7 separate regions of the Homo sapiens genome follow, and all the other regions are linked to region 1. Evidence: promoter capture Hi-C in 16 types of primary human blood cells and fetal thymus (Javierre and others, 2016). All regions are on one chromosome and are shown on one strand. Each heading gives the region's core, a stretch centred on a gene start or on the middle of the fragment in contact. The rest is flanking DNA. Distances are from core to core; before and after follow the strand shown.

The links. Contacts are between HindIII fragments. The CHiCAGO score rates a contact against its expected background, and 5 or more counts as called.
Region 2: a fragment that was not itself captured here is called in contact with the fragment with the promoter of TMX3 in region 1 in 1 of 17 cell types (M0 macrophages); the score reaches 6.6 in M0 macrophages.
Region 3: a contact is called between a fragment that was not itself captured here and the fragment with the promoter of TMX3 in region 1, in 2 of 17 cell types (M0 macrophages and monocytes). The highest score is 9.8, in M0 macrophages.
Region 4: the fragment with the promoter of SOCS6 here is called in contact with the fragment with the promoter of TMX3 in region 1 in 7 of 17 cell types (M2 macrophages, erythroblasts, M0 macrophages and 4 more); the score reaches 9.0 in M2 macrophages.
Region 5: a fragment that was not itself captured here is called in contact with the fragment with the promoter of TMX3 in region 1 in 1 of 17 cell types (naive CD4 T cells); the score reaches 6.6 in naive CD4 T cells.
Region 6: a fragment that was not itself captured here is called in contact with the fragment with the promoter of TMX3 in region 1 in 3 of 17 cell types (total CD4 T cells, activated CD4 T cells and total CD8 T cells); the score reaches 13.7 in total CD4 T cells.
Region 7: a fragment that was not itself captured here is called in contact with the fragment with the promoter of TMX3 in region 1 in 15 of 17 cell types (naive CD4 T cells, total CD8 T cells, total CD4 T cells and 12 more); the score reaches 19.3 in naive CD4 T cells.

What each region holds. Positions count from the first base shown.
Region 1 is chr18:68,712,582-68,716,880 of GRCh38, reverse strand. It overlaps TMX3 (thioredoxin related transmembrane protein 3), which reads left to right and starts at 1,773. Exons shown (of 16, transcript NM_019022.5): 1 at 1,773-1,945; 2 at 2,981-3,035. The coding sequence starts at 1,900. It also overlaps a transcript of CCDC102B not described here. RefSeq lists an enhancer at 1,446-1,515 and silencers at 1,716-1,845, 2,026-2,125. The HindIII fragment of the contact is 941 bases long and covers 1,293-2,233 here.
Region 2 is chr18:70,437,647-70,441,945 of GRCh38, reverse strand. No RefSeq gene overlaps it. Among named protein-coding and RNA genes, the nearest start is that of LINC01910, 55 kb to the right of the region's middle. The HindIII fragment of the contact is 1,039 bases long and covers 1,819-2,857 here.
Region 3 is chr18:70,417,288-70,421,586 of GRCh38, reverse strand. No RefSeq gene overlaps it. Among named protein-coding and RNA genes, the nearest start is that of LINC01910, 35 kb to the right of the region's middle. The HindIII fragment of the contact is 3,005 bases long and covers 674-3,678 here.
Region 4 is chr18:70,287,129-70,291,427 of GRCh38, reverse strand. It overlaps SOCS6 (suppressor of cytokine signaling 6), which reads right to left and starts at 2,383. Exons shown (of 2, transcript NM_004232.4): 1 at 2,338-2,383. RefSeq lists a silencer at 1,648-2,547. The HindIII fragment of the contact is 7,416 bases long and covers 1-3,330 here.
Region 5 is chr18:67,184,681-67,188,979 of GRCh38, reverse strand. No RefSeq gene overlaps it. Among named protein-coding and RNA genes, the nearest start is that of MIR5011, 110 kb to the right of the region's middle. The HindIII fragment of the contact is 1,993 bases long and covers 1,361-3,353 here.
Region 6 is chr18:67,204,813-67,209,111 of GRCh38, reverse strand. No RefSeq gene overlaps it. Among named protein-coding and RNA genes, the nearest start is that of MIR5011, 130 kb to the right of the region's middle. The HindIII fragment of the contact is 6,959 bases long and covers 1-4,299 here.
Region 7 is chr18:67,220,626-67,224,924 of GRCh38, reverse strand. No RefSeq gene overlaps it. Among named protein-coding and RNA genes, the nearest start is that of MIR5011, 140 kb to the right of the region's middle. The HindIII fragment of the contact is 1,539 bases long and covers 1,226-2,764 here.

The sequences.
Region 1 (4,299 bases), core at 524-3,023:
GGTCTCGATCTCTTGACCTCGTGATCCACCTGCCTCGGCCTCCCAAAGTGCTGGGATTACAGGTGTAAGCCACCGCGCCAGGCCACATCTGGCTAATTTTTTAATTTTTTGTACAGATGGGGTCTCACTGTGTTGACCAGGCTGGTCTCAGACGCCTCACCTCAAGCAATCCTCCTGCCTCAGCCTCCCAAAGTGCTGGGATAATAGGCATGAGCCACCCATGCCTGGGACTTGATCAGTATTTAGATTTCATAAAATTTACAGTTGAAAAAGTAGATTCACATACCTCAGTTGTTCCAACCACATTAAAAAAACTTTCCAATAGCTGAATCGAGTGTCAGTTTTTGAGTTTACTGAAATTAAAAAAAATAAATATTCAGTTATTTCATCACACTAGGCACATTTCAAAAGCTCAATAGCCACATGTGGTTAGTGGCTACACTACTGAAAAGCACAGATCTAGGTCAACTGGCTTTTGTTGTTGTCCACATGTGAACTTAAACTGTAACGCAAATATAAGAGGAAATTATTTCACTTTGCATGCTGTGGAAGACAGAAAACTTTGAAATACATGAGAATGAAAAAAAAAAATTGAATATGGGTCATTCAGAGACCTTGCCAAGAAAGTAGAAAAGCTTCTGTATAAGAGTATCGAGGCGATGGTACTATTATAAAGCTGTTCCACCACCACCGGGAGAACATTCCCATCATTTCAACAGTCCCCTTACGTTTTAGTCTACTTTTTTCTTAAAAAAAAAAGAAAAAAAGGAAAAGAGAAAGAAAAAGAAAAATTGAATCTGTAGAGGGCTTGCGCTGGATACCATGCTGCATGCACAAAGGGGGTGACATTTAGGGCTTGCTCTCAATTAGAGTGCAATTTAATCTTCTAGTCACTAGGAATAACGACGTTTTATGACATTTTTGCCTGTTGGAATTTTGAACCTAAGGTGAACCGGCTGACATCATATCCCCCTTCTGTTGTTGTCACAGGTTTTCAAAATTTGGTTTGATCTAAATTCTCTGGTACCTTATGTCCCATAAAAATTTCATCTAGTTCGTAAGTAGTGATTGCTGCAGTAACCGTCTTATAAAAGTATATGGTTTTTACAAATCATTGTCGTATAGAAGAAAAAACAGGTAGCAATATAAATATTTCATACTACTTTATCTAGTTCCAAAATAATCAGAAAAGAGCCATCAAAAAATATCCTACGCTTAACTTCATGTTCTCAAGTTTCAAGAGAAAGTTTTTAAAGAGGCAATCCTTACTTTGGCAAAAATGCATTAAAGCTTGCTGCATTTAAGAGATGTCCCATTATGCAAACAGGTTGAAAGAATATTACAAATACGTTTTGGAAAAATACGGAGTGTCGCGCAGCTCAGCAATCCGCAGTCTTAATGCGCGCCTCTTTCCAGGAATTTGATCCAGCATCAAAACCCACAGGTGCACTCACCACACGGGAGTAACAAGTAAATGATGTGCCAGTATTCAACCTGCAAGTGCGTCGTCAGAGCCTACCTCACCCTCAGCATAACTTTCACCGGTATTCACCTTCCCGGAAACGCGCCCCAGTGAACCAGCACCGTTTTCCCTAGTAAAGCCCTTAAGCAGGGTTCCCACGCTCCTGGGCGTGGAGGGGGGCACCGAGAGCGCAAAGGATTCTTAAGACATGACTGCGCAGGCGCTGTCGCATGCGCCGCACTCCCCTCGCATGCGCCGCACTCCCGCGCATAGCCGGAGACGGAGACTGGCCGGGTAGCCCCGCCCCCGTAGTTAGCGCGGTGCTTCTCTTCCGCTCCGGGTCGGCTCCGTTTCCCTTTCCGGGCGGGCAGGCGGCGGACCCCAGTGTCTTTATCCCTCTTTTGCACAGTCAGCTTCTGCAGCTCTCCCGGGCTAGCATGGCAGCGTGGAAGAGTTGGACGGCCCTGCGGCTCTGCGCCACAGGTAATGGGGGCTCAGCGGTCGGGACGCTGGCGGGCGCGTGGGACCTGGCCCCGCCGTGGGGCCGGGATTGGACCCGGGTCTGGGGCGAGGCCTGCGGGGTTCGTGGAGATGCCCACCCATTCCCGGCAGCGTCCTGCCGCCCCCGCCGCGCCACCCTGCCTGGCCCTGACGGAGCGGACACCTTGGGGTCCTTCCGCCGCCGCTGTGCCGGACCAATGCTGGACGTGGGAAGGGCGCGCTGCCTTGTGTTTGTGTTTTTCTCATTGTGGCAGAAGTTTCAATAAAGCTTACTCCTTTGATGGGCAAGAAGGATGCCGCCGTCCCAGCTTAACGACCAAATCTTGCCTTGGCTTTAGGTTCCGAGTCTTGTCACGTTTAAGGATTTTTACCACCAGTACTCAAGAGAGGGTGGTCGAGGACAGATCAGGGTCAGGCCGCCGGGATTGTGCGGTGTGAAAAGGACCTGAGTGTGTGTCAGCGGTTCTCAGCTGCCTCCCGTCAGCATGGAGTGCCCTCATTCTCACTGGGGTCCGCTCACTTAACAACCTTTTAGAGCCCACTCTGTGTCAGGCACTGCCGTGTAATAAGTATTAGAGTTGCAGCTCGACTTTCTTCCTACGTATCTATTTGAGGGGAAATATTTTGAATGGCATTTGGAGTTTTTACGGAAGAGGTAATTGCTACTAAAGCAAAAGAAATAAAGAAGAATGCTGTCTATTTGTATTCCAAAAAGATAGGATGGTTAAAAAGAGACGTAAGATGAGAGTGAAAATATGGAGGAAAAAGGAACTGTGTGTATTAGATTTATTGGCTTACCTAGAACTTGGCCGGTCACGATATGGTTGCATACAGACTAAATATTTATTAAATGGATGAACTACCTTTGCTTTTGCATCATTTGCACCCTGGGATGCATCAGTGATGAATTTTTTGGTAGGTTGTGAAAGGTCAAAAACACTTCAGAGATGACTAAGCTTATACGGTATGAGCCAAATAATCAGCATTTATTGTGTACATTTTGTCTTTTTTTTTCAGTTGTTGTACTTGATATGGTCGTCTGTAAAGGATTTGTAGAAGATTTAGATGAATCGTGAGTATACATATATATATTTAAAATATTATTTTAACTGTCCAACTCAGATATCTGAATATTTGCATGTGATTCTAATATTTTAGATTGGAACCAATTTTTATATATCACTCATTTTTTTCACTTGTTGTAAGTGAAGGTGAGGGTGTGCCCAGAAGAGTTTTATTAATAGTTATGAGATCAAAAAACTGTGGCAAACTTTTACATATTCTTTTTTTCCTCATTATCTTACCTTGTATTTATGTCTTTTTCCTTTAATTATATTGAATGGGTGTTAGAATTTGGTAACTGTACTGTATTTATCTTCATAGTATGACAGCATTAATCAGCCTTGCTTATAGTAAGTGAGGAGGTTCACTTCAGACCCAAATTCCTGTGTGTGATCTTTCAGGCTTGACCATAGACAATTGCAAGGCTTTTTCTGGCATAGGGGAAGGTGCCCTCCCTACACCAAACTTGGTGTATAACCGGTGCATTACAGTCCCTGGAGGGAGTGGTAGTCAAGGATTCGGCCTCCCAGGCCAGCCACGCTCATTTGCATGTCTACACTCCCAACCCAGTGGTCTCTGTTTAGCAGCCTCCTTATTGGGACCTCACCTGAGGCATTTCCTGAGCACTTCTGCTAAAACATCTTTATTGAGGGTGTCAGCGGAGGCACTTTTCTACTCTAGTCCTTTTCTCTCTCACCCCCCATAAAGAGACAGAAGACTTTTGTTCAGTGCTGTAGGAAATGAGATGAATTCTCCCATCTGTGTCTCATCCACCTGACTCACCTGGTGCTGTTTCATGGGGAGAGATGGAACACTGAGGAGCTGGTGCCTCTTTTTTTTTTTTTTTTTTTTAAACCTCTTGACTTGCACTGTCACAGTAAGTGAATAAAGCTGTGATTGTTAGTTTCAGTTTAGCTTGTTGTCCTGATTGACTACCTGGACACCTGATGGCATGACCAAATGGGTGCAGTGAGAGGGTGATCATACAGTGCTGTTCTGTAAGAGCAAAAATCCTGACAGTCCCATGGGGGCACTTCGCTGCTCATGCTGTTGGGTCATGGGGGATGCTCACTGATTGTTTACAGGAAGTTTTTGATTCTGAGAAGAACGATTGTTAACAAGGAGATAGTCTTATTAAACTTAGTGCCTTGTGGGGTGTGTCACTACAGACTTCCTCCTTCAGAGTGTCCTAACAGGGGCAACTCTTCCTGAGGAGGAGGAAGGGATTCTGCTCCTAATAACCATTTTGTTACCCATGTGGATGCTCACCAGAA
Region 2 (4,299 bases), core at 1,089-3,588, 1.7 Mb before region 1:
GCTTCCTGCATGCGCAGTGTTTTCCTCACCCTTTGGACTTGAGCACACCCCAGTGTGTTTAGGGATTTATGCGCATGCCCATCTGAGGCTCTCTTCCCTTTTCCAATGGTGTGTACCCCACCCAGAACATGGTACTTCGCCATTATTGTCTTTTAACAGGCATGCCCAGTAGCTTCTTCCTGGGGTCTGCATTCAGTTAACATTTTGATGTTAACAGGTGTGGACCATCAGGAAATGGCCTCTCCCTGGCTGCCAAATTATCATTTTTAAAGAAGCAATGTGATAATTGCCAAACCATCGCCTGACATTCCCAGTGGGTAGGGGCGAAGGAGAGCCCTCTCCTGCCCTGCTCATATGTAACTACCTGTAACAGGAAGAAGGAAGAATACAATATATGGTCGAGTGTTTGACAGACAACATGTCAAACGATTTATATACTTATTTATTTTTTACACAAATATGGTGTCATTTTTAATGACATTTGGCATTATTATCTCTATTTTATAAATGAGGAAATACAGGATCATAAAAATGAAGAAATCTTCATGCAGTGAGACACAGAGCCAGGATCTGAACCAAGGTTGACCTCCAAAGCCCAAGCTTTGTTCCATGAAAACAAGAGGTATAAACAGATAACACAGAGCAAATGTGAGAAGAGAGAAGTGGGGACACAGGAAGGCTTCCCAGGTCTCAAGGACAAAGGTATATTTGAGCACAGACTGAAGAATGGATGAGACTTTGAGGGTAAAGATGAAAGAAACAATCCAAAGGGGAAAGCCAGCGACTTGAAGGAGCTGACTGCAGTGTCCAATGCTTTGACTCAGCAAAACAGCCAAATCAGGTTCCCATGACAGGGCAGAGGATGCACAGCTTCTTGAAAGCTTGAGTGTGCCCAAGGGTCCTTGCAGTAACAGCAGAAAGCTCAGACAGATAATTCCTACCATTAGGCAGGAGACAGCTTCTCCCGGGGACTCGGTGGTTGATAAGCTTTCTTTTCACCAGGGAGCTTTTTCTGATGTCTTTTCTTAGGAGGAAGACTTGCCTATTTAAGATAAAGAGTAGAAGGCAGTACTGGGAGCACTTTTCTAAATTAAATAACTCCTCAGGGTGCCAGTCTGTTAAGTGTGGACAGAAGCAAAGAGGCAGGACTTGCTGGGCTCCTGCCCATTCATGAAGCAAAAATTGCAGAGCTCCCCAGGAAGCCACGCGGTTTTGTGGACGTCTAAATTTCTGACATAAAGAGATGCTATTTGTTTACTTTTTGCATATTCAAAGGAAAGACAGTAATGCATAATAGATTCAGCAGGACATTGCATCCTGTACAAAAATTTTATTGATCATACTATCACTAACTTCTCCTGAAAAATGACTATAGTAGCCTAATTGAATAATTTTCTATTGTAAATATTCAAATTATATTAGGGACTTAGATCAGCATATTTTGAAAGATGCTCCTTGTGAAGTTTGGAAAGGTACACGGAGTTCAGCTTTTTAAAACTACATTTAAGATCCAAGGCTTACTTCTTACCGTGGCTTACTCCTGTAATCCCAGCACTTTGGGAGGCCGAGACGGGAGGATCACTTAAGTCCAGCCTAAGCAACATGGTGAGACCCTGTCTCTACAAAAAATAAAGCATTAGCCAGGTGTAGTGTCATGCACCTGTAATCTCAGCTACTCAGGAGGCTGAGGTAAAAGGATTCCTTCAGCCCAGGAGTCTGAGGCTGCAGTGAGCTATGATCACAACACTGCACTCTGGCCTAGGCAATAGAGTGCAGTTTATCTGAGTTTAACTCAGCTTCAAATATAAAGGAGAAGCTTTGAGCACCCTAAACTGCCATGAGCTTAACCACTTACACACTGCTACCTCTGGCCACTAAGCCAGGAGAGAGAAGCAAGTATCCCTCGTTACATCCCAAGCTCCCTTCAGCTGTGAGACACAGGAGCTTCTGCTTCCCTCCCCACAGGGTAGGCTGTAGTCATTCCCCTCCCTCCAAGTTCATGAACACTGCCTGCCATTTTTTGTAGGTAAACTGCTCATTTATTAATCTTATAAAATCATGAATGAATGAACAACTAGTGAGTATGAAAAAATATGTGTTGTCCTATACAGGAAGCCTGAGATCACCAGCTCAGGTGGAGCCAAGAGGAATTTTGCCAGAAGCCCTATTCACGGTATGTTTTCTATTTGTCTCTCCAATATCTTCCTACATCTCTAACCACCACAGTGCAAGGATGGGAAGAGTACAAAGATCCTTCCCATTCAGTCGTCACTACGAAAGAGATTAATTCACATTCCCACTTAATTCAGGGGCAAGAACGCCCCATATGAAGGATACCTAATAACATTTCTACTTAACCTCACTAATGCAATTAAAGTGAGAAAAAGAAATAAGTGGTACAAAAAGTAGAAGATTGGAGATAATATTTCTATAAAATTCCTAATTTGTAGAAAATGTGTCACCATGAAAAATGCAAGCAAAACAATTCAAAGAGTTCAGCAACTACTTTAAACAAATAGTCCAGGTGCGGTGACTCAACCTGTAATCCTGGCACTTTGGGAGGCGAGGCAGGTGGAACACTGGAGCCCAGGAGTTCAAGACCAACCTGGGTAACATAGCGAGACCCCCATCTCTATAAAAAATACAAAAATTAGCTGGGCATGGTCGTACATGCCTGTACTCCTGGCTATTCGGGAGGCTGAGGTGGGAGGATTTTGGGAGCCTGGGAGATCGAGGTTACAGTGAGCCATGATTGCACCACTGCATTTTAGCCTGGGCAACAAAGCAAGACTCTGTCTCAAAAAAGCAAAAATGAAAAATCAATAAATAACAAAATAAATTATTTTATAATTAAGCTTATTTTAAGCTTATTTTTTAAACTTACAATTATTTTATAACTAAGCCTGAACTATAATAGGAAAAAAAGGAGGAAAAAGAAATAACATAAACTATAAGATTCAAATGAATAAATCTCTTTAAAAGTGGACAAGACCTTTATAGAAAAAACTAAAAATATCATTGAAGGACACACAATAAAGGATTGTGAATAGTAGAGATGTAATCCATGTTATTCAATGGTAAGACACATAGATACATTAGAATTTTACTAAAAAATCAGTGAAACTCCAATTTTAAAAATTGTAAGCAAGGTTTTTCTTATAACTGAACATGTCTATTCTTAATATAGAAGAGCAAAGACATTTCTAAAGACAAAACATGGCGGGGAAGGATAAGATCTTGCCTATTAGATAATAAGGATTATTACAAAACCATAGTCAATTAGGAGAGGGAGTTTGTTGCAGTACTAGGCAGTACTAAGTAGATCAGTGTTTCAGAGAGGCTGGAGACATACCAGTCTTTTCAATAAATCTGAGAAAATTGGTCATCCATATGGAAAATATTGTATCCCTCACTTACATCATATAAAGAAATAATTCAAAGCCTACTAAAATGCCAGGCATGAAAATCAAATCCATTAAAACATTTAAAAGAATTATAAGAGCAAGATTTTATGACTATGGTAGAAAATGATTTTTCAAACAAGATTTCTTTAAAACAACAAATGATAAAAAAGGTGTATTTGACAACATAAAAAATTTTTAAAACTTTCATGAAACAAAAGACACCACAAACAAAGTGAAAATAAAAGCACAAACTGGTACAAAAGATTTGCAATACTTAAAGAAAGGCAAGCGTTGGCCAGGTGCGGTGGCTCACGCCTATAATCCCAGCACTTTGGGAGGCTGAGGTAGGGGGCTAATCCAAGGTCAGGAGCTTGAGACAAGCCTGGCCAACATGGTGAAACCCCATCTCTACAAAAAAAAAATATATATATATGTATATATATGCAAGGCCAGGCCTGGTGGTGGGTGCCTGTAATCCCAGCTACTTGGGAGGCTGAGGCAGGAGAATCACTTGAACCTGGGAGGCGGAGGTTGCAGTGAGCCGAGATTGCACCACTACACTCTAACCTGGGCAATAACAGAGTGAGATTCCATCTCAAAAAATATATATATATATGCAATACTTAAAGAGAGTGTCCAGAATCCACAAAGGGTGATACATAAATAAGAAAGAGATAAACTATCCAATATAAAGAGAGATGGGGGTACAAACCCACAGTTCACAGATAGGAAACAGAGTCAAGAAACATTTGACAAGATGCTCAATTTCACTAGTAATATGAAAAATAATAGTTAAATGGAATACTGAAATTAAACCACTTTGTATCCATCAGAGAAGCAAAAAATCCGAACTCTAATAACAATAAGCATTGACAAAGACATGGACAAACTTCAT
Region 3 (4,299 bases), core at 927-3,426, 1.7 Mb before region 1:
GTGTAAAGAAGCAGGTGTAAATGATAGCACTGAACATTGGAAGATGTGGACCATGCCGGAGAAATTGTCCCTGCGGAAGCATTCAACTGTTGTAGTCAAACAATGTTGTAATTATTCTTACACTCTTGTAGGCCCATCACTATATATATTTATTCAATATTTATTTATTGAACATCTACTTATATATAACTACCTTAATCACTTTAGTACCTATGGAGACGAATAATTTCTGCATTTAAGAACTTTTCTGGCTAGGCATGGTGGCTCATGCCTGTAATCTCAGCACTTTGGGGGGCTAAGGTGGATCGCCTGAGGTCAGGAGTTCAAGACCAGCCTGGCCAACATGGAGAAACCCCGTCTCTACGAAAAATACAAAAATTAACTGGGCGTGGTGGCGGGCACCTGTAATCCCAGCTACTCGGGAGGCTAAGGCAGAAGAATTGCTTGAACATGGGAGGCAGAGGTTGCAGTGAGCCGAGGTCATGCCACTGCACTCCAGCCTGGGTGAAAGAGTGAGACTCTGTCTCAAAAGAAAAAAAAAAGAACTTTTCTGTTACGTAAGGGCAACAGCTAATGATAACCCACTATAAGTACTATTGCACTGATAAATAAAAAGAACAATGAGCAAAAATATTCTTACCAAAAATCTTATGCTCAAGGTGAGATTAAAGCTTGCTTCAAAGAACGGATAAGATTTTAACAGGCATGTTGAGAGGAAAACTATTCTAGGAAGATTAAACAGAAAGAGCAAAGGTATTCCTTAAAATGGTTTACAAAACCCTTCCAAAGTTGACCCCACCACTCACAGTGCCTCATTGTCTGTAATCCCAGCACTTTGGGAGGCTAAGGTGGGAGGACTGCTTGAGCCTGGGAGGTCGAGGCTACAGTGAGCCATAATCTCACCACTGTACTTCAGCCTGGGTGGCAGAACAAGAATCTGTCTCAGACACACAAAAAAAGCTGATCCCCACTTAAATTTCCTGCTTATAATTCTCCCCACTCACCAAACTTCCTGCATCCTCCTATTTGTCATGTTTTCTGAAACCTCAGGACCAGAAACAGTTTTTTCCTAAACTTCTATACCTAGAAAACTCCTGATTTCCACTAGAATAGAAAGTAATTATTTCAGGCTTTGAAGACTATGCGGTCTGACTCACAACTATTCAATTTTGCTGTTATGCTGTGAAAATAGCCATGAACAATATTTAAATGAATGAGCAGGCCGTGTTGCAATATAACTTTATTTACAAAAACAGGAAGAGGATTGGATTTGGCCCACAGGTCATAGTTTGCTAACCCCTGCTATGGTGCAACATCACTCTCTCCTGGAAGGGAATGATGTTTTTAGTCCCAAGAAATATATGGAATGCAACTGTCTCATGTACTATTGGTTGTTTAATTGAAATTCAAATTTAACTGAGCGTCCTGTGTTCTATCTGGCAATCCTAATAAATGTCCATCAGAACTTCCTGTCTTCATAACAGCAATGCCAAAAATCCTAAGCGCTCAATTTCTGGTAAAACGTGTGTCTCTCGCTTTTCTCCAGCGGACGTTTCCCCCATCCCTTCATCTTCAATTCCCATTCCCCCAGACTCTCTCCCCTCTACAAGTTTGTTAATTGTTTTTAGAGAATGAGAAAGTAATTTTCATTTCTTTAATGAGTGTTTAAAGAATTAAGGAACGTTTGTCATGGCAGATACAGAAAATAACAGTCTCAAGATTCTCTCATTCCCTGGGTTTTATACCGTTGTATTAATCTAAAAGCTACCCATTTCATCATCTCCTTTTAATTCTCCCTGATGATTCAGGAGCTGTACTGCCTGTGGTTGGATTTGCTGCGATAACTTATCTCCATAGGACAGGAATTTATGAACTGGTTGCATTTAGATTGGAGCTGTTTTCAAGAGTCTCCTGAGCTGACCTTTTAGAGTAAACCTCTAATCTCCAATGCAGAATTAAAGACTCTGCTTCTTATGAAAGAAATCACAGGCACCAGCTACTCTTGAAGAATGTTTTCTTGTTGTGGGAGGTGGGGAGTGGGGCAGGAGTTAGCAACTGAGTGGAGAGGAATCTTAGAACCCGCGGGCTCTGCCGGCCGCAGCTGTCTCGGCACCTTTTTTCTCAGTCACTGGGGTCACAGCTCTTTCCTCTGTGTCCTCCTCTTCTTCAGGTAACTCACCCTCTGCCCTCCTAGCTGTTCACACTAACATACACCATTTATATTCTAAGGGAGCATTAGTGTGTGTTTTTAATGATTAACTGCTCTAACACAGGTGCCTTCTGGCCGCTTCCACCCAAAACCTCCTTCAGCTGAGACCCTGCGAAGTCTTTCTGCCCCTCCTATGGTCGGGGTCATAGCAGTGACAATATGGCTCTGGTGTGGGAGGTGGCAGGGGAGACTTAGGGTCAACCCTGCTCTAAATCACTGTCATCTTCAACTGCAGAATATAACTAATACTGAAACCCACAGACCACAGAGAAGAAACACCCACACTTCCAACTCAGATTATAAAGCACAAACCCTTCTGTCTCATCTCCCACGTGCCTCCCGCCTCACCTATCCATAAGCTGCCCTTCATGCTGCTGGAAGAATATTCTTTCTGAAACATCAATGCTCACCTGTCTCTCCTGTGCCCAGGACCAGCCCTGGTATCTAGGGGCTGCAGGGCAGAATCCAGGCTTGCCTTCACAGTCTCCTCCTTTGGGCATCTCTACTATCCCAGCCTCGTTCTTCAGTGCAATCCACAGTCAGCTTCACACGGCTGTGCGATCCTCAAGCGTGAGTGTGTTTTCTGTGCCACTCACTCTTTCATCCATTCAGTCAACAGATATTAACTGAATATCTGACTTAAGCCAGGCGCAGTGAAACACACTGGGGATAAACTGGTGGAATGAACTTACAGTCCATTGACGGATGAAGAGAACTGAACAGGGTCAGACAGAGTGATGAGAGCCCAGGGAGCACATAGGAGGAACAATTCAGAGAGGGAAGGACGTTCTGGATTTTTCTTTGCCACATCAGGCAACTCTGTGTGTGTGTGTGTGTGTGTGTGTGTGTGTGTGTGTGTGTGTGTGTAACTCTATACTTGTAATGTGGAGTCATCCCAGCAAAGATGCCTGACTGAGGTCTCCCTATTTTTATTTGTGTCCTCTTGTGTTCCTTACTTTATCACTGCCATTTTGCCTATTACCATTAAATTGTTTTACAAAGAACAATACACCTATTCTCCAGATTAACCCCCAAAACAAATTTAAATACATTGCACCTAGCCAGCTGCAAAATCCCTATTTCTACTTGGGTCTGGGAATTATAGTATCCACCAATAACAGTACAAACAGATCGCTGACATTTGTACTACAGATGGTAATTTGACACATTTATTGCTCTCAGACCAAAGATATTCCTGGAGGAATTAATTTTAATTTCTTTCTAGCTATTTTTTTATTACCAATAGACAATTACTTAGATAGCATCTTGAGTAAACGCACCCCTTGTATCCTAAGCATCCTTTTTAGCCAACTCAATGGATGAGCAAACACATTGCCTCCTCTGATAAGTGTGTTGCCTTTAGATCCCAGCATCACGATCCATCTCTCAGACCTGCAGGAAATGAGATGCTATCACGTCAAGTATTTGCTTTATTTGTCTGGGGAAAATTAGCTCTTCAATTTCAAGCTTAAGGGTCCTGGGCAGAGTCGTGTTCTAGAAAGATATGTTGCACTGTGTTGCATTGAACCTGAATCCGTAATCTCAGAGGAAGGTGGGGCCAGCAGAGTCTCCAGAACTCAGCTCAGGCAACAGCTCCACGGTAGCAGGACAGCAGGTGTCACCTCTGACATCTCGCGAGCCTCCGCTCCATGGGACTTTCATCGATGAATTGACCAATAACATTTTTTCCAGTAAAATAAAATCATTTTAATGAAATAACAAAATAAAATTGGGGAAGGTTTTTGAGATTATTTTCTTTAACCAGTATTCCAATACTTTCATATACTGTATAATTTTAATGTTCTCTTAATTGTCTTTTTTTAGTAGTATTATTATTTTAGTTTTTTTGTTTTGTTTTGTTTTGTTTGAGATGGAACCTCACTCTGTCGCCCAGGCTAGAGTGCAGTGGCATGATCTCGGCTCACTGCAACCTCCGCCTCGCGGGTTCAAGCGATTCTCCTGCCTTAGCCTCCCAAGTAGCTGGGATTACAGGTGCATGCCACCACACCCAGCTAATTTTTGTATTTTTAGTAGAAACGGGGTTTCACCATGTTGGCCAGGCTGGTCTCGAACTCCTGACCTCAGGTGTT
Region 4 (4,299 bases), core at 1,134-3,633, 1.6 Mb before region 1:
CACAAGAAGGCTTAAGAGGACACTTGCAGGCTGGGTGTGGTGGTTCGTGCCTGTAATCCCAGGGCTTTGGGAGGCTGAGGTGAGAGGATCTTGAGGCCTAGAGTTTGAGACCAGCCTCGGCAACACAGCAAGACCCCACCTCTCCAAAAAACAATCAGCCAGGTGTGGTGGCACATGTCTGTGGTCCAAGCTACTCAGGAGGCTGAGGGAGGTGGATCACTTGAGCCCAGGAGTTCAAGGCTGCAGTGAGCCATGATTGCACCACTGCACTCCACCCTGGGTGACAGAGGAAAAACAAAAAAGAAGATACTTGCTTTCTGTTTCCTAAAAAAAGGGGGGCCATTAAAAGAACACCTTTTCCAGTTCTAATGCAAGAATGAAGAAAAACACTGGAAGGCAAAATGACTAGAAACCCAGTCAGTACAGCACCATTTTCCACCCTACGCCCAGTCAATGGCTCTCAAATTCCTTCCCTGCCACTCCCTGCGGGGTGGGGGGCCCACCAAGAGAGGGGGTCATGGGATGACCCGAGGGTGTGCGCTTGGGTGGGAGGCCCTGCTGAAGAGAAAGGGGCAAGACTACCAATTTAGAGGGTAATTTAGAAGATAACGATAAAGGTAAGAGAGAAACAGTGTTTCAAAAGAGATGCTGAATGGAGTTCTAAAAAAGTATAGATTCGGGTGAATACCTGGCTGACCCTTACCCAGGCACAAGCGGAAAGCCCTGGCCAAACTCCAGATAGAAGTTCTTCTAGGAATCCTTATCAAATCCACTGTCCACGAACCAGGTTCCTCCAAGGCACCAAGGCAGGCTTAGGGAGGGTGTTTGAACCAAAGGGTTAAGGCCACATATTTAATTTAGAGCTGAATGGATCCTAGACCTTACCATATCCACGCGTGCACAAAACCCACTAGGAGGAGAAATTAGAAAGCCCACGGAAAAGTATTACAGACTTTTTTTCCGGTTTTTGTGAAACCTGGTGAGCAATGCCATTCGTGTTTTTAAGTAAGGCTGTCCACAGCATTAAATATTACAATTAAGATTCGTTCATTCAAGTAAGCTAAATGGATTTAATGTTGTGGTAGTTGGTTAAAAACAAGTCAAGATAAATTGCTACCTTCAGTGGTTGAGAAGATGTCAGATATTTTATCTTGAAGTAGAACGTTTACTTTTGTTTGATTCCAAATGTATCTTTATCCCAAGGAACACAGTAAATTTAAAATGTCTCTGGGAGACGTTCAGTGTGTAATTCACGTTATTTCTGTCATTACTGTGTTCTCTGTCCTCATGCACAGTGCATGCTGCCTTATCCGGGCAGACGTTGCAGAAACATTTGTTGAAATGAATTCAACATTATTTATTTTGCTACCGGAAGACTGAGTCCCGCCACATATTCCCACCTGGCCCTTCATTCCAAACAGTGGGGATGGGAACCCCAATTTCACATTCCAACTGAACGTTAAGTTGGCACACACACTACTGCACATATCCCAAGTTTTGTGCCAGGATCTGCCCCTGAGAAACGTCCATAATTCTGCTCCGTGAGCCACAAGGGTGTACCTGAAGTTGCCAACTCCCGAAGCAAACTGAAAATTCAGGCCCGTGTCGGTCCCAGGAGCGGTTTAAATTCCACAATCGTCCGGTCCCTACACCCGGGTGAGTGCGCAGCCGGCCGGCGGCACCTTCAGCCGCAGAGCAGCCCCGGCCTGCACCTCCACCAGCGCCGGCGCGACCTCGCGGTGGGGCGGGGGCGTCCCCGAGTCCCAGCGCCGCGCCCCAGGCCCGCCCTCGCGCCTGCGGCCTCGCCGCGCCCCGACCCCGAGCCCGAGCCCGAGCCCGCGGAGGTCCGAGGAGGGACCCGGCCGGGGCGCAGAGCCGCGCAGGCCCCGCGCCGCTGCCCAGGCCTCGCGGAGCCCCGGCCTCTCCCCGGCGAGCTGCGGGCAACAAAGGCGGCGGCCCAGGCCGGCGCGCCGCGGCCGAAGAGGCCGAGGGGTCGAGAAGAGCCGTCCGCGGCCGCGCAGGCCTCGGCCCTTCAGGGGCCGCCGCGCCCCGGCCCCGGCTTCCCGGTTTCCGCGTCCCCGCTCCCGGGACTGGCCCCGGCCCCCGTTCCCCGGCCCTGGCCCCCGCCCGCGCACCCGCCGAGACGGCGCAGGGCCTCGCGCTGACCCAGACCCGTCGCTGCAGCCCCGCGCCCGGCGGCCTCCCTGGCCCGGCCCGCGCCGGATCCGCCCCCTGCACTCCGAGGCGAAAACCAGCCGTGTCCCGGACCGCGGGCGACCCGGAGGCGGACGGCGAAGCCCTGCCCCTGCCTCCCGCCCGAGCTCCCCGGACGCTTACCCGGAGGCGGCCCGGCTCCGCTTCCTCGCCCAGCGCCGGCGCGACTGCCGCGCTCGCCTTCTCCTCTCGGCAACTCCTCCTCCCGCCTCCTTCCTCCTCCTCCTCCAGGAGGGGCGCGCGGCCGCGGCGCCTCGGCCCGAGCGGGGAGCGGGTGCGGAGGAGCCGAGCGGGCCGCCCCCCGTCCACTACTCGGGCCCGCGGCGCAGGCGGGGCGTCGGGGCGCGCGGGGCTGAGGCCGGGGGCCGCGCGGGGCGGGGCGGGGGCCGGGCACTAAGTGGGGGTTCCGAGGGGAGGGGCGCCGGGCCGGGGTCGTGGGGCGGACGGAGCGCGGAGCCCTGATCCCTTCCCCCACCCCCGCGCCCCTCCGCTGGTGCCTGCAGGAGGCCGCTCCTCCGGCCCCCAGAGTCCCTGTCCTGGTTTTTCCTTTGGTGCTTTCCCTCTGGCGGGGGTGGCCCCGGCTAACGCGGAAAGGAAAGTCTCCTCGTTCCCCGGCCCCGCGGATTTGGCGGCTGCGGTCCCTGTCCCCCTGTGGCGGGCGGTCGGACCCCCGCACTGCCCAGGTCCGCTGGGCTCGCGCGGGGACCCCGGCCTCGTCCCCGCAGGGAGGGGACCCCAGGACAGACGCGCGCGCACGCTGTGCAGAGCCACAAGTGGGGAAACCCTCCCCACACCTCGACTAAATTGTGAAAAATGCTTTTTAAAAAACCAAACATTCCTTGTTTCAAGCCATCCACTTTTCCATTTAGTCGTTTTCAGGGAGGTTTTGTACAAGGAATAGTTGTTTGTGCCGCCGAATTCCAAGGTAGTGTGGTATACAAGTTGCATGTTGGGATCTTGACTAATTTCTTTGGAAACTGGCTGAACATACTACTAATGTATAGCAGTACCACAAAAACTTGATTTTTGTGCATAAGAATCAATAGGAAAATTTGTATTTCTCTTACGATGAAAAGTGGTTAAAAAAATGAATATCATTAGTATTTCAGTAAAGCTTGGGGGGAGATAAATATTAAAATCTAATGAGAATTATTGTGGACTTTAAAAGTTGTGTTTCTTGAATAGTATGGACCTTTTTAAAAGAAAACCGAAAGGACAGAGAAAAAAGGGCTAGAAAAAAAGTCTAAAAAGCTGTTCAGGTATGAGTTGGTACCCGAATTATATCTCAATAAAGTTGTTAGTTACAAAAAAGTTCAAGTCCAGTAATCTTAATTCCTATGTCCAATATACAATCTGGATTTCCCCAAGAAATCTAGATTCATAACAGAAAAGTTGGATCTTTAGGTGATGCAAAGTTGATGTCATGTATCATACACTATCATTGTCATCTTCAGTTTTTACTTGAATTTATTAATAAAATACTACCATTATTGTTACCGTGATTGAAATGCAACACAATTCTCAAATATCTAATTACAGTGATTGGAGAATGTAGGTTGAAATAGAATTGTCAGAGAAGTTAGTGGGAAACACAACAAACAGTAATTAACGGTGGCTCATGCCTGTAATCCCAGCACTTTGGGAGGCCGAGGCGGGCGGATCACAAGATCAGGAGATCGAGACCTGCCTGGCCAACACAGTGAAACCCCATCTCTACTAAAAATACAAAAAGTAGCTGGGCGTGGTGGCAGCTGCCTGTAATCCCAGCTACTCAGGAGGCTGAGGCAGGAGAATCGTTTGAACCCGGGAGGCGGAGGTTGCAGTAAGCCGAGATCGCACCACTGCACTCCAGCCTGGGTGACAGAGCTAGATGCCGTCTCAAAAAAAAAAAAAAGAAAAGAAGCAAACGTTTCAATCCTACTGCCTCGGAGTTCCAGTGTCTCCCTATATTTTCTAAAATGACAACCAGTAGGAGCTGTGCAGCAGGGGGTTAGTGAGCCTTTCACGCAGCAATGGGGCTGTGCAGGATGGGGAAGTGTTGACTCTTTTAGGAGACACTTAAATGTATGGTTAAGACCCTGGGGT
Region 5 (4,299 bases), core at 1,108-3,607, 1.5 Mb after region 1:
GATACTGATCCCTGGTAGAGACCAAACACTTGGTCACAGGCTGTCAAGTACTATCCCCTCGCAAGTTGCCCATCATGAAAATGCTGTGAACACAGGTAATTGTAACACAAGGCAGGCTATTTTTAAGTTAGTTCTGAAGAAGAGAAGCACAAGCAGGTAGCTTAGAGTGTTATAGTAATTATACCTATTTTATTGAATCCTATCTCTCAACTCACATCTATAGCACCATAAGGGGGTCACTATGACAAGTAGACCCTGGAGGAAGGTATTATTTTTGTGGTTTTTGATGATTCTAGACATAAAAGTGGTATACATGAAACCAGAGAGCTAGATAATTAGAATTTCACCTAGTTTTCACTGTCTGAAAGACAGTGATAAAAATAAATTCTATGCATGTGCAAAACTTGAAACAGTGATGTTGGACTTTTCACTTTACCTGAAAGATGGTATGGAGGAGGTGAATATCAATGTGTATGTCTGTGTGTGTGTGTGTGTGTGTGTGTTCTTTTTTTGAGACAGGGTCTCGCTCTGTTGCCCAGGCTGGAGTGCAATGGCATGATCTTGGCTCACTGCAACCTCTGCCTCCTGGGTTCAAGTGATTCTCCTGCCTCAGCCTCCTGAGTAGCTGGGATTACAGGTGTGTGTCACCACGCCTGGCTAATTTTTGTATTTTTAGTAGAGACAGGGTTTCACCATCTTGGCCAGGCTGGTCTTGAACCCCTGATCTCAGGTGGTCCACCCACCTCACCCTCTCAAAGTGCTGAGATTACAGGCATGAGCCTCTGGATCTGGCCTCAATGTATGGTTTTAAACAGCTTGATTGAGGTGTGATTAACATATATACACGTGTGTATGCATATTTATATGTACATGCACATATATATGTATACATACAAACATGTTTAAATTCATAAGCATGATTAAGAAACTGAACATATCCATCACATCCAAAGGTTTTCATGTGGTCTTTTGTCCATCTCTCCCTAAATTTCCTTCCTAGACATCCACTGATCTGATATTTGTCACTATACAATAGTGACATTTTCAAAAATTTCCCTTTAATCACTGGAAACTAGAATCACACAGTATACCCATTTTTTGTCTGTTTTTATGTGATTCAATAATTCCTGTTTTATGAGTTGTAACCTATTATTTGTGTATACAACAATTTGTTTATTCTCTGAGTGATATATATTGAGTTATGTTTAGATTATGATATTACAAACAAAACTGCTATGAATATTTTTGTAGATAACTTTGTATGGACATATGATTTATTTTCTCTTGGGCAAGTCTCTGAAAGTGGAAAGACTGGGTCATATGGTAAGTATTAATAATTGTTTAACTTTCTTGACAAGCTTCCAAACTCTTTTCTAATGTGATTACACCATTTACATTTGCACCAACAGTGTATGAAATTTATACTTCCACTACATCCTGGCTAGTAATTGGTATGGTCAAACTTTTTAGTCACTCTAATTTTAGCAATTCAATTAGGCATATAGAGGAATCTCAGTGTGGTTTTAATTTGCATTTTTCCAGTGACTAATGACAATGCACATTTTTAAGGTGCTTATTTGCACCAAAACATGTTCTTTGATAAGAGATCTGCTCAAATCTGAGGAGTTCAGCTTAACTCTTGACCAGAACTCTATATATGATTTTGCAAGCCTGACCATAGGCAATTAAAAGACTTTGTCTGACAGGTCTCTGAGAGAAAGCTGACCTCCCAACATCAGTGTCAATGCACAGCCAATGCAGTGCATTATTTCAAGGGAGTTGTCGTCAAGGACTCAGGTTCTAATGGTCAGCCATGCTGTTATGCATCTCTGAGTTCCTAGCCCACATGCTTGCACACAGGATTAAGTTTTCATGACCTTGGCTTTGACAATGAATGCTTTGATATGAAAACTAAGTCATTATAGATAAAAGATACAATAGATAAATTGGATCTCATCAAAATTATGAGCATTGTACATCAAAGGACATTGTCAAGAGGGTAAAAAGTAGCCAACTAATTTGGAGACAATATTTGCAAGTCACCTGTCTGATAAGGTTGAACGCTGCAGAATATACAAAAAAACACTTTCAACTCAGCAACAAGAAAGACAACAAGTAAATTTATAAAATGGTCAAAGGACTTAGAAATTTCTTCGAAACGTGAATGAATGGCCAACAAGTATATGTGAGGATGTTCAACATCGTTAGACAATCAGGAACTGCAAAACAAACCCACTATCTGGTATGACTTGACACTCACCAGGATGGTGATGATAAAACATAGAGATCGTGGAGAAACTTAAACTTTTGTGCATTGCTGTTGGAAATGGAAAATGGTGCAGCCGCTGTGGAAAAGAGTTTGATGGTGCCTCAAATATGCTAAAAATAGCATTTCCAAGGGAAATGCAAATTAAGACAACAGTAAGAAACACCGCACACCTATTAGATAGACAAAAACTTAAACACTAATATTGTCAAATGCTGGTGAAAATGTGGAACAATGCATCATTTGCTTTATTGCTAGTGGGAATAAAAAATGATACAGCCATTTTGGAGGACAACTTGGCAACATACTCTCACCATACAATTTAGCAATTGTGCTCCTTCCAACAAAAAGGGTTTGAAAACTTAAATGCATACAAAAACGTGTACTTGGACGTTTATAGCAGCTTTATTCATAATTGCCAAAAATTGGACGCTACCGTGATGGTCTTTAGTAGGAGAACAGATAAACTGTGGTATATGCAGATGATGAAAAAACATAATTATATATGTAATTACATATATAATATTTATAAAATTTTATAGTATAAAAATAATATATTTAATTATATATTATACACAACTATAATATAATTATATATTGTACATTATAGTTATATTACATATTATATATAATTATATATACTTTTATATATACTAATACATATTATATTATAACTAATATATGTAATATATAATTATATACTATATATTGCAATTATGGTATATAATATAAAGTTAATAAAACTATTACGTTTTACTTGTAATTATATAATATATAGTGAATATCACTATGTAATAATATATATAGTTAATATTACATATTAGTTACATTAGTTAATATTTATATAATTATAATTATACATACTATGATTTATTTATATAGTTGAAAATATATTTGTTTATATAGTTTATATAAGTTGAGTGTTTGAAGTTTATATAAGTTGAATATTTGAATAGTTGAAAGTTTATATAAGTTGAATATATAGTTTATATAACTTGAATATTTTTCAACTATATAAACAAATCAGTACTGATACATAATACAACCTGGATGAACTTTGATAATATTAAGCCAAGTGAAAGAAGCTTTACACCAAAAGTCACATATTATATGATGCCATTTATAAAAAATATACAAAATAGAAAAATCTATGAAGACAAAATGCAGATTAGTTGTTACCAGTGGTTGGGGGGAGGAGAAAATAAATGAGGAGCAACTGCTTAACTGGTATGGTTTTTCTGTTCAGGTAATGAAAATACTTTGGAACTAGATAGAGGTAATGGTGTTCAATTATTTTTAAAGAAAAATACAATTTTCCTAAGACAAAAGCACAAATTTTTTTAACCATTTTAAGAAATGTTATATTTTTAGGTTTTACATTAGGTCTATGATCCATTTTAAGTGAGTTATTTTATGGAATACAAGGTATGGATAAAATTTCATCCTTTCTTCATATAGATATTCTGATTGTTCTAGCACTATTATAAAAATACTATCCTCTCACCACTCCATTGTCTTGGCTTCTAATCAGTTGTCCTTATATGAGTAGGTCTATTCTGTAGTTTTCAGTGAATAGGTCTTTTACATCTCATATCAGATTTAGGTATTCCACATTTTTAAATGGCATGTTTTAATTTCGATTTTCATGATTTTGTTACAAGCACACAGAAATACACTTGATCTTTTTATATTGATTTTCTATATTTTAACATTGCTAAACGCACTTAGTTCTCATAGCTCTTTTGGGTAAATTCCCAGTTTTTCCATGAGGACATGCTAACTTCAAATGCTTTACTTGTTTCTTTCCAGTCTGGATGCCTTTAATTTATTTTATTTGTCTTATTTATCTGGCTAGAATCCACTGCAAAGTTGAATAGTAGTGATGAATGTAGGATATCTTTGCCTTCTTTCAGATGTTAGGGATAAAGTATTTAGTATTTGACCATTAGGTAGAATGTTAGCTGTAGGTTTTTTTGTAAATTGTCTTTATCAGATTGAGGAAATTTCCTTTACTGAAAGTTTTTTTTCTTCTT
Region 6 (4,299 bases), core at 1,334-3,833, 1.5 Mb after region 1:
GTATATTTGTTGCATTGTTGAACTTCTCATTAAGCCACAGGATTGGGCAGTCAGTGGAGAGATTGATTCCAGAGTTTTACTGAGAAACACACATGTACACACAGAGTATTTTAAAAATAAACATATCTGGTTTAATTGGCTTGTTAAAATACTGTAGAGATTGAATATACATTAATCTTTTGCTCTTGTTACTTCACCAAATACTAAAAATAAAATCATAATTGTTTAGGATAGTGAATCGCTGCGAAGCCCATAGAGAGGACTACAGGCTTTCTCTAACATCTATCAGCTAGATGCAGCTTGGAATATCTCATGAGTCTATTTAGTATCTAGAGGCCTTTGTTTCATGAAGGAGACATATCTAAGGCCCAAATCAGAGATTCAAGAACCAGTGCTTCCCTGAATCTTCTATGTAAAATACTGATCACTTTTAAAAGTCAGCTGCTGAGTATTTGTGACTTAGTTAGAGAAAAACAAATGTTAAACATCACCATAATCACTGTCACAACAAAAATAATAAAAGTCTCATAAAGGGACACTGGGTTCATCTGAAATGCAAGCTAATTATCTAAATTATTAGATAATTTTTAATTCAGCAAATGAGAGCTGCATTGGGAAATACAATAATCAGGATCAGTATTAATACAACATTGCTAGCTATCATTCCCCTCTGTGCTTCCCCCTCCTATCTGGAAGGCAAACTAAAGTGAAGCCTATACATCAGCTATAGCACAGATATAATCCTAATGCTCTCTGTGAAATTAAGGACATTTTAGGACCTTTCCTCTTTCCCCTTAATAGAGTTTAATAAATTGGTGAAAGTCTACAATAAAAATTTAGTGTGTTAATAATTTTTACTGATTTATTAAGTCGTAATACTATTATGTAAAGCTGAAACTACCTTTTAAAACTTGAATATACACACACAATTTATTTGTGTTTGAATACATATGTGTTTATATTCCCTTTATAACTCACAAAACATTCTATCAATAAAATTTGATACTTGCTTTTGTATATTTTTTACTTCCTCCTGTGTTTACAATAGTCCCTGGAATTGTCAACAAGTATTAGGTTGAATCCCAGATTCCTCAATAATAATTAGACAAGCCTAGGAGGTTTTAACAACCTCAAATTTCTTTGTCGGTCAAAAGTGGTTAATAATACCTATTTTGCAAGTTTGTTGTAAGTCTAAGTGAGATAATACATAAGAAGGTCTAAGTCTAGACCTTCTATTTCTTAATATTTCTCTCCCTCCCTTGTCCCCTCTCTTTTATATACATGAATTTATGTGTGTATACACACACACACACATATATACATTATATCTATTGATATATATAGATAGAATAAGAGAAAGGCAGGAGTGAAAGGAAAGTTCTAACATAATTTTGATCAGCATCTCTAAAGGAAAGGAGAAAGAGTTCAGACGCAACACTTGAACAAATATTGATGGATATTTTTTCCAATCTGATGACAACAAGAATCTCAGAGAATCCCGCTTAGAAAAAGTACAAAGATAATTGAGGCACCTCATTGTGAAACTGTTAAAAACCAATGATAACCTTAAAAGCATTTAAAAAAGACATATTAACTTCAAAGGCAGTAAAACAAGACTGATAGTAGAGTACTCAAAAGAAGACACAGTTACTAAAAGACAGTGAAACAGCTTCCTTAAAGTGCTAACAACAACAAAAAACCTGCAACATAAAATTTTTTACCCACCAAAATTATTTTTCAAGTTAAAAAGTAAAATAAAGAGGCTTTAGACTTCCATTCTTTTCCACCAAATAAAAAAAAATAAAGCAAACAGCCAAACAAGTAAGCCAAAGAGATGAAATAACAAAAACAAGCAAACAAAAAACAAATAATTTGAAAATTTTGAGATAATATAAAGAAAAATATATAAAAATATATAAAAGTATAGATGCATCATAGCTCAAAAGAAAAATGTTACTATTTGCAGAGATACAATTGTGTATGTACAACATATTAAAACCTCTAATTTTTAAAAAATCATAAGCAATTTTATCAAGTTCACTGGATAAAATGATTACATAACTGATTCCTCTATTAGAGCAAATTAGAGCAATTTTAAATTATTTAAAATTTCATCAAAGCATCAAATCTCTAAGAAAACAAAAAATATGCAAGGGCTATCCACTGACAATATAAACCTTTAAATATGAATTAAATTCATATAGGAATACATCATCTTCATGGATTGTAAGATTCAAGTGTTGTAAATTGGGATCATTGTAAATGTATCAATTCTCTCCAAATTGATTTATCCCATAATGCAGTCCCACTTGAAATCCAAACCATTTTTTTGGGGAAAATGTAGAAGCTGGTTCTAAAATACTCATGATAATGCCAAGAAGAGCCAATACAATCTTGATGAATAGGTATAAAGCAGGAGGGCCACTTCTGACTTGGTACCTGGTTCTTTTCCTGTTCTTTTTTTTTTTTATTAAATAATAATTTTAATGCGTTTGTTCCATTTTTCTCATCTAGTACTCTATGAAAGCCAGATGTCATATTTCTGTTTTCTATTTTTAACAACTTCTTCTGTGCTCCAGATTTACTCTGCTTGATATACCCGGGTTAGTTTTCAATTGTGTCTGTTCTGCTCTTCCACTCTGTTTGTTTTTAGCTGTGGTTTCTATACTAGTAATCTTTGATTTTTATAAGAATTTGTTCTATTTGGATGGGTGCAATATTCTGTTAAGTTAAATTGAGTGCAATGACTGTGAAGTTTTATCTTGCTCAGTTTGGTATACGTTGCTCAAGATTAAATGGCTATCGGATGTTTGATTCAAGATTTGAGCCCTAACCTTCTGATTCTAGAGCTTGTGCTTTTAAACACTCAGCCATAGAGAATTCCAAAGTCAGTACTATTTTCTATGGCCAGCAATCTGACTTCCAGCCTTCTGTTCACTTGCATGATATACTTGTCAAATATGCCATCTTGTATTCAGAATATCTTTCCTGATCCTACCAAAAATTATCTCAGGACATAATTATGTATTTTTATTGCTAAGTTGTTAATAAAATACTTCACCCACACAAAAGACTATTGTCTAATTCTATCATTAAAGAATGGTAATTCTTAAAATTAGCCTTAGAAATGACAATATATGGTGTCAATGAGATGCAATAAAAAAAATTCTTCCAAGTTCATAGTCCTGATCTAGTGCTTATATGTCGCATAGTCACAACAGAAATATATAAACAAAAATAAGCCCAGGGAAAAATATTTATGTTAATCAGGATCCAGAGTTTCCATTTGTTAAAGTTACAACTACAGCCAAACATCACAAAATGACAACTCAGGAAACTTTTAGTAGACATAAAATCTTAAATTTTAAAGAAGTAACATTTCATTTTAACAAAGCATTTATATTTCTGATACCTCTATATGAAATATTCTAAATTGCCACATTCTGGACCTAATTATTTACTGTTCCGCAGACAAATGACATTGGTTTGTTGTCACACTTTCCTGGCATAAGGAAGTAGTTCACTGTCTCACTGGAAAACCAAAAATGTTTCTCAGAAGTACAATTAATAACCTGTTATATAAAAAACAACATATTTCAGCACATAAATACAACTGTATTTGTCTTCATCTTCCCAAGTCAGAATTGAAATGAGTTAACAAAATAATTATCTAATTTTCTCATTTTTATCATTTTATATGTGACATAACATTTATGATATTATTTTTCTTCTATTATACAACATAAATTAATTTTTCCTTTTGGATGGTGGGATTATACTTTTCGTTTTAGAAACTGTTCTATGTACCTAAAAATAAAATGGCATGTTTCATATGAAATTTGTTTAAATACTGAACAAATCTGGTAAGATGAAATTATTGTCTTACATCCATTTAAGCAAATTTTTTACCCTCTTATTATATTTTACATCTTATTAAGTAGAATCATCATGTTATGAATAATTTTCTATGACTGATAGTAACAGATAACCTCAAACCATCTAAAAATGAAAAGAAATAGATTAATACTACATCACTTGAAATATTTTAAAGGATAAAATGGAAGGATAAAATTCTACTAAAATATTAATTAGATTGAATATAATTTTTAGATATATTTGAGCTTATTGGATTGTACATTCATGGGATTTTATGGACAAATATGTGACATAATTATAAATGTTGAATTATATTTATCAGATTGATCCTAAGTAAAACGATGAATTTCAAATATAGAATTATATGTTATAAAATTCATAATTATAATTTTTGTTAACCACATTGGCTATAACACAATTATA
Region 7 (4,299 bases), core at 746-3,245, 1.5 Mb after region 1:
AGTATGTTAATTGGGAAATACTTGATTAAGTCTGATTTATAATAATTTGAAATGACTTATTCTATCACTTGTATTGGTTACTTGGACTTTGAAATACATAATTCTATTCAAATAGAAACCTTAGTTCATTCCCATGCATAAGCAGTAATATTGGAAAACTAGGCCCCTTGACTGAGCAGAAAAAAGAGTCGAACTGAGTATTTTTTTTAAAGTACATCCTCAATTTGTTAAGTATACAAAAGGACCCAACTTAAATGGCAAATTGTTTAGTTGTCAGATAACTCTAATGACTTATTTATTTTTATATCTTCTTTCCAAAACTAAGCAAGTTTACATCTAAAATAGAATGCTGAAATTGTACTTTGAATGTTTATAGTAATTGATAAGAAAAACAAAATTCCTTAAACAATCACTTACACAATGCTTTAAAAAAATTAACATGATCTAGGTTGTAAAGGGTTGTTTAGCAAAGGAAATGCTTATGACCCAGCAGTTACACTTGTTCTATGTTCTCAAAATATATGGGCACAAATAGTTAACTAACATTCCTAAAGCATCCTTGCATAATATTGAGACAATTGGCCATGGTGCTAAGATAATCAAGAGATTTTTTTTTTTAGAGTAGTCTTTAACTATACAATATGTAAAGTGAGAATACACTCTAATACTTTAAAATGTAGGTTCATGTAATGTAAAAAAAGAAAAGTACATACTAAATCTGAATCTTATCTTAAAATAATAAAATGATTCAAACAAGTTTAAAGACATAAAACAATAATTTCAAATTTTAATAAAATATATTTGTGATGAACTTCTAAAGAATTTGAGTATTAAAGAAATAAAACTTTAAACAATGTAGATAAATATTTTGGTGGAAAGGTATAATAATACATATATAGTATTTTAGTTTTCTTATGAGTGTTACTTTTAATTTATATCTACGTGTTAGTTTTAAGATGACATTTCACTACATAAAAGCAATTTCAAATCACTATATTACATTTTTTCAAGTAAAAAGATAAGTAGTTTTAAATTCAAATATTCTTCAAATAGTAAACTAATTCAAGCATCATTTTCATGCAACAAAACAGCTTAATGGAACTAATTTTTTAAATGCCCTAAATGGTAATATCTACTTTCCAAGGAAATTAAATTAGTCTTATAAAACAAGTAAGAATTATTTTAGATTTTAATATTTAGCTAATTTTCTTAATTGCTATAAGCTTACTTTAGCTATCCGCACTCATTCTTACTTCAGACAGCCTTAAAGAGTAAAATTCAATATTCAGAGTATATATTTCCAACCTGTTCTCAGTAGAGGGCTATCTTCTCTCAGATTATGTATAACCTTCTGAGTTTTCACATTTAATCCTTAAATAGGAATGAGGCATCTTTTTGCCTTTTATTTTAGTTTAGAAGGATGAGTTAAAACTTTCTAATTTTGATCATGTTGGGCAGGTCTTGACCTTCTGCTGGTCCAAGAGGTTGATTTTTACTGAAAGAAAATAAGAAATACAAGGCACTTTTTAACAGGAGGTACTATTTCTCTCTCGTCTTTAATTAAATAAAAAGTCTAGTAGTTATTGATTCTGTGGTTTCCAGCCTTAAACAACTGCACTCAGAATGGCCAAAGATAGCCATTGCTGCAGTTTCTACTAATACACTTGAATAGCATCACAAAAGCAATTAGAGATATGTTGAGCAGTTTGCAGTTCACTTTATGTCTGTATTCTGAGATGTTTGGAAGCTAATAAGCAAGAAAAATAGTATCAGCTCTTTGTTTTGCTACTACTCTCACTAAGCTCATTTGTCAGACAAGATCTGAGAACATGTCAGCAATATGTCTTATTAGTAAAACAAACTGAAAACCTGCCTGGCTTAGGTCATGCTGCAATACAAATGATACCACTTATGACAAGAAATATGAGGAAATAAATTACTTTTCAGTTAAGGACCACAACAGAGAAAATACTGACCCCATGTTAGCATGATAAAACTTCTACCACTGGAACTAAAACAGATTGTCAGGCTTAATGAACATTCAACTGATTATTTGAATGAAACTCTTTGCCAAAGAACATTTTAGTACTTGAATATTATTTTGTAAAACTATATTAAATATGGAGGTTTAATATTTTATTAGCCATCATTAAAAAGAACACTTCTGAAAAGGAAGGGGAATTTGAAGTTATTTAGTATTTTAAAATAAGATTGAATAAATACATGTATACACTTTTTTTTTTTTTTTTTTTTTGAGACCGTGTCTCACTCTCTTGCCCAGGCTGGAGTGCAGTGGCACAATCTCAGCTCCCTGCAGCCTCCACCTCCTGGGTTCAAGCAGTTCTCATGCCTCAGACTCCCAAGTAACTGGGACTACAGATGCATGCCACCATGTCACCATGTCCAGCTAATTTTTTTTTTATATATATTTTTTAGTAGAATTGAGGTTTCACCATGTTGGCCAGGCTGATCTTGAACTCCTGCGCTTAGGTGATCTGCCTGCCTCGGCCTCCCAAAGTGCTGTGATTACAGGTGTGAGCCACTGTGCCCGGCCCATACATATAAGTTATTCATGTAATCTCAATCGAAACATTCATATTTGCTCTGGAATTAAGAGAAATTATAAATTGGTCTATACATTGATGAATGAAAAAGATCTACCAGTCTATTGTAGCTTGTTATAGTAGCCTGAATGAATGAAAACCGTTTCTCCCATTGGAAAACATATACTTGATGCTGTTGATAAATCCTATCTCCCTAAGCTTCTAACCACTTCACCAGTGTGTTTAGAAACAGAAGATTAAAATACAATCTTTAATACCAAATGATATATCTTACCTAATTTGTACTTCAGTAACAAATTTACTCTAAATTAAAATTTTTACAGGATTTAAAAATACTAAATAAATTTGTGGAAATAGAGAATCGTGCTAAATTTAGTTCTTATATATTGATGCATAAAAAATTAATAGATAAATACACATATAGTTTGATACCATATATGCTTTAAAACTACTAAGCAATACCAGATAAATTTAACATTTACATAGCACAAATATAGCTAATATTCATCAGACAATATGTGTCTCGTGTTTTTCTTTGGGGTTAAACATATATTAAGCCATTTAACTTAAGAGGTAGTCTTTATCTTCATTTTCAGATGGTACAATTATGAATGTAGAAGTAATTTTCCCTAAATTGCATAGGTCTGGCTCTTGGGTTGATGTTCTTTACATCTCATGTGTTTCTTTGGGGTTAAACAGCCATTTAACATGAGGTAGTCTTTATCTTCATTTTCAGATGGTAAAATTTTCTCCAAATTACACAGAGTATGGTTCTTGGGTTGACGTTCTTTAGGCTGAAATATCCAGTCTTAATCATGAATACAATGGAGACCAGGACAGAAGATATTCTGTATCAAACAATGAATGGTCATTGTGGGGCGGTGAAGGGAAGGAGGTTGTGTGATTTCAGGAGAGTGATTCGCCCATGGATAGATAAAGTTTAAAATTGTATCAAAAATCGTCTGAATAATCCCTTTTTCCACCATAATAGAGCAAGGTTCAACTGGCAAATGTACACATATTTTTATAAATAGACACACACACTTCTTGCACAGTATTTTGGCTAATCTAGTTAGAATAACACCATAAATCTTTACAATAGATTCCAGAAAGCTTTTGTGTTATTCTCTGTTACACGACGTTATTGACGGTAGAAGCTTTAAAAAGGAAAGGTTTCTTTAAAGACAGTTTACTCCAGTGTTTCTCAAATATATTTCTGAGAAATTCAGGGAACAAAAAGGGTTGGATGTGAGGTAGGAATGAGGAAAAATAATTTTGTCTGCTGAGCTCCAGAACTGGCTTCGATGAAAACAGATCCACTTTTTATATATAAAAATATATTTTTATAGATATAGACAGTACAAGTGCCGTTTTGCTACCTGGATACATTGTGTAGTGTTGAAGCCTGAGCTTTGAGTGTAACTATCACCTGAATAGTGTACATTGCGCTCACTAAGTAATTTCTCATCCCTGACCCCCATCCCACCATCTCATTCATCTGAGTCTCTGATGTCTGTATTTCCACTCTCTAAGTCCGTGTGTGCACATTATATAGCTCCCAACTATACTTAAGATCATGCAGTATTTGACTTTCTGTTTCTGAGTTATTTCACTGAAGATAATGGCCTCTAGTCCCATCCAGGTTGCTGCAAAAGACAAGATTTCATTCTTTTTATGGCTGAGAAGCATTCCATTGTACATAAACAACAATGGATACAGATCCACTTTTACATGG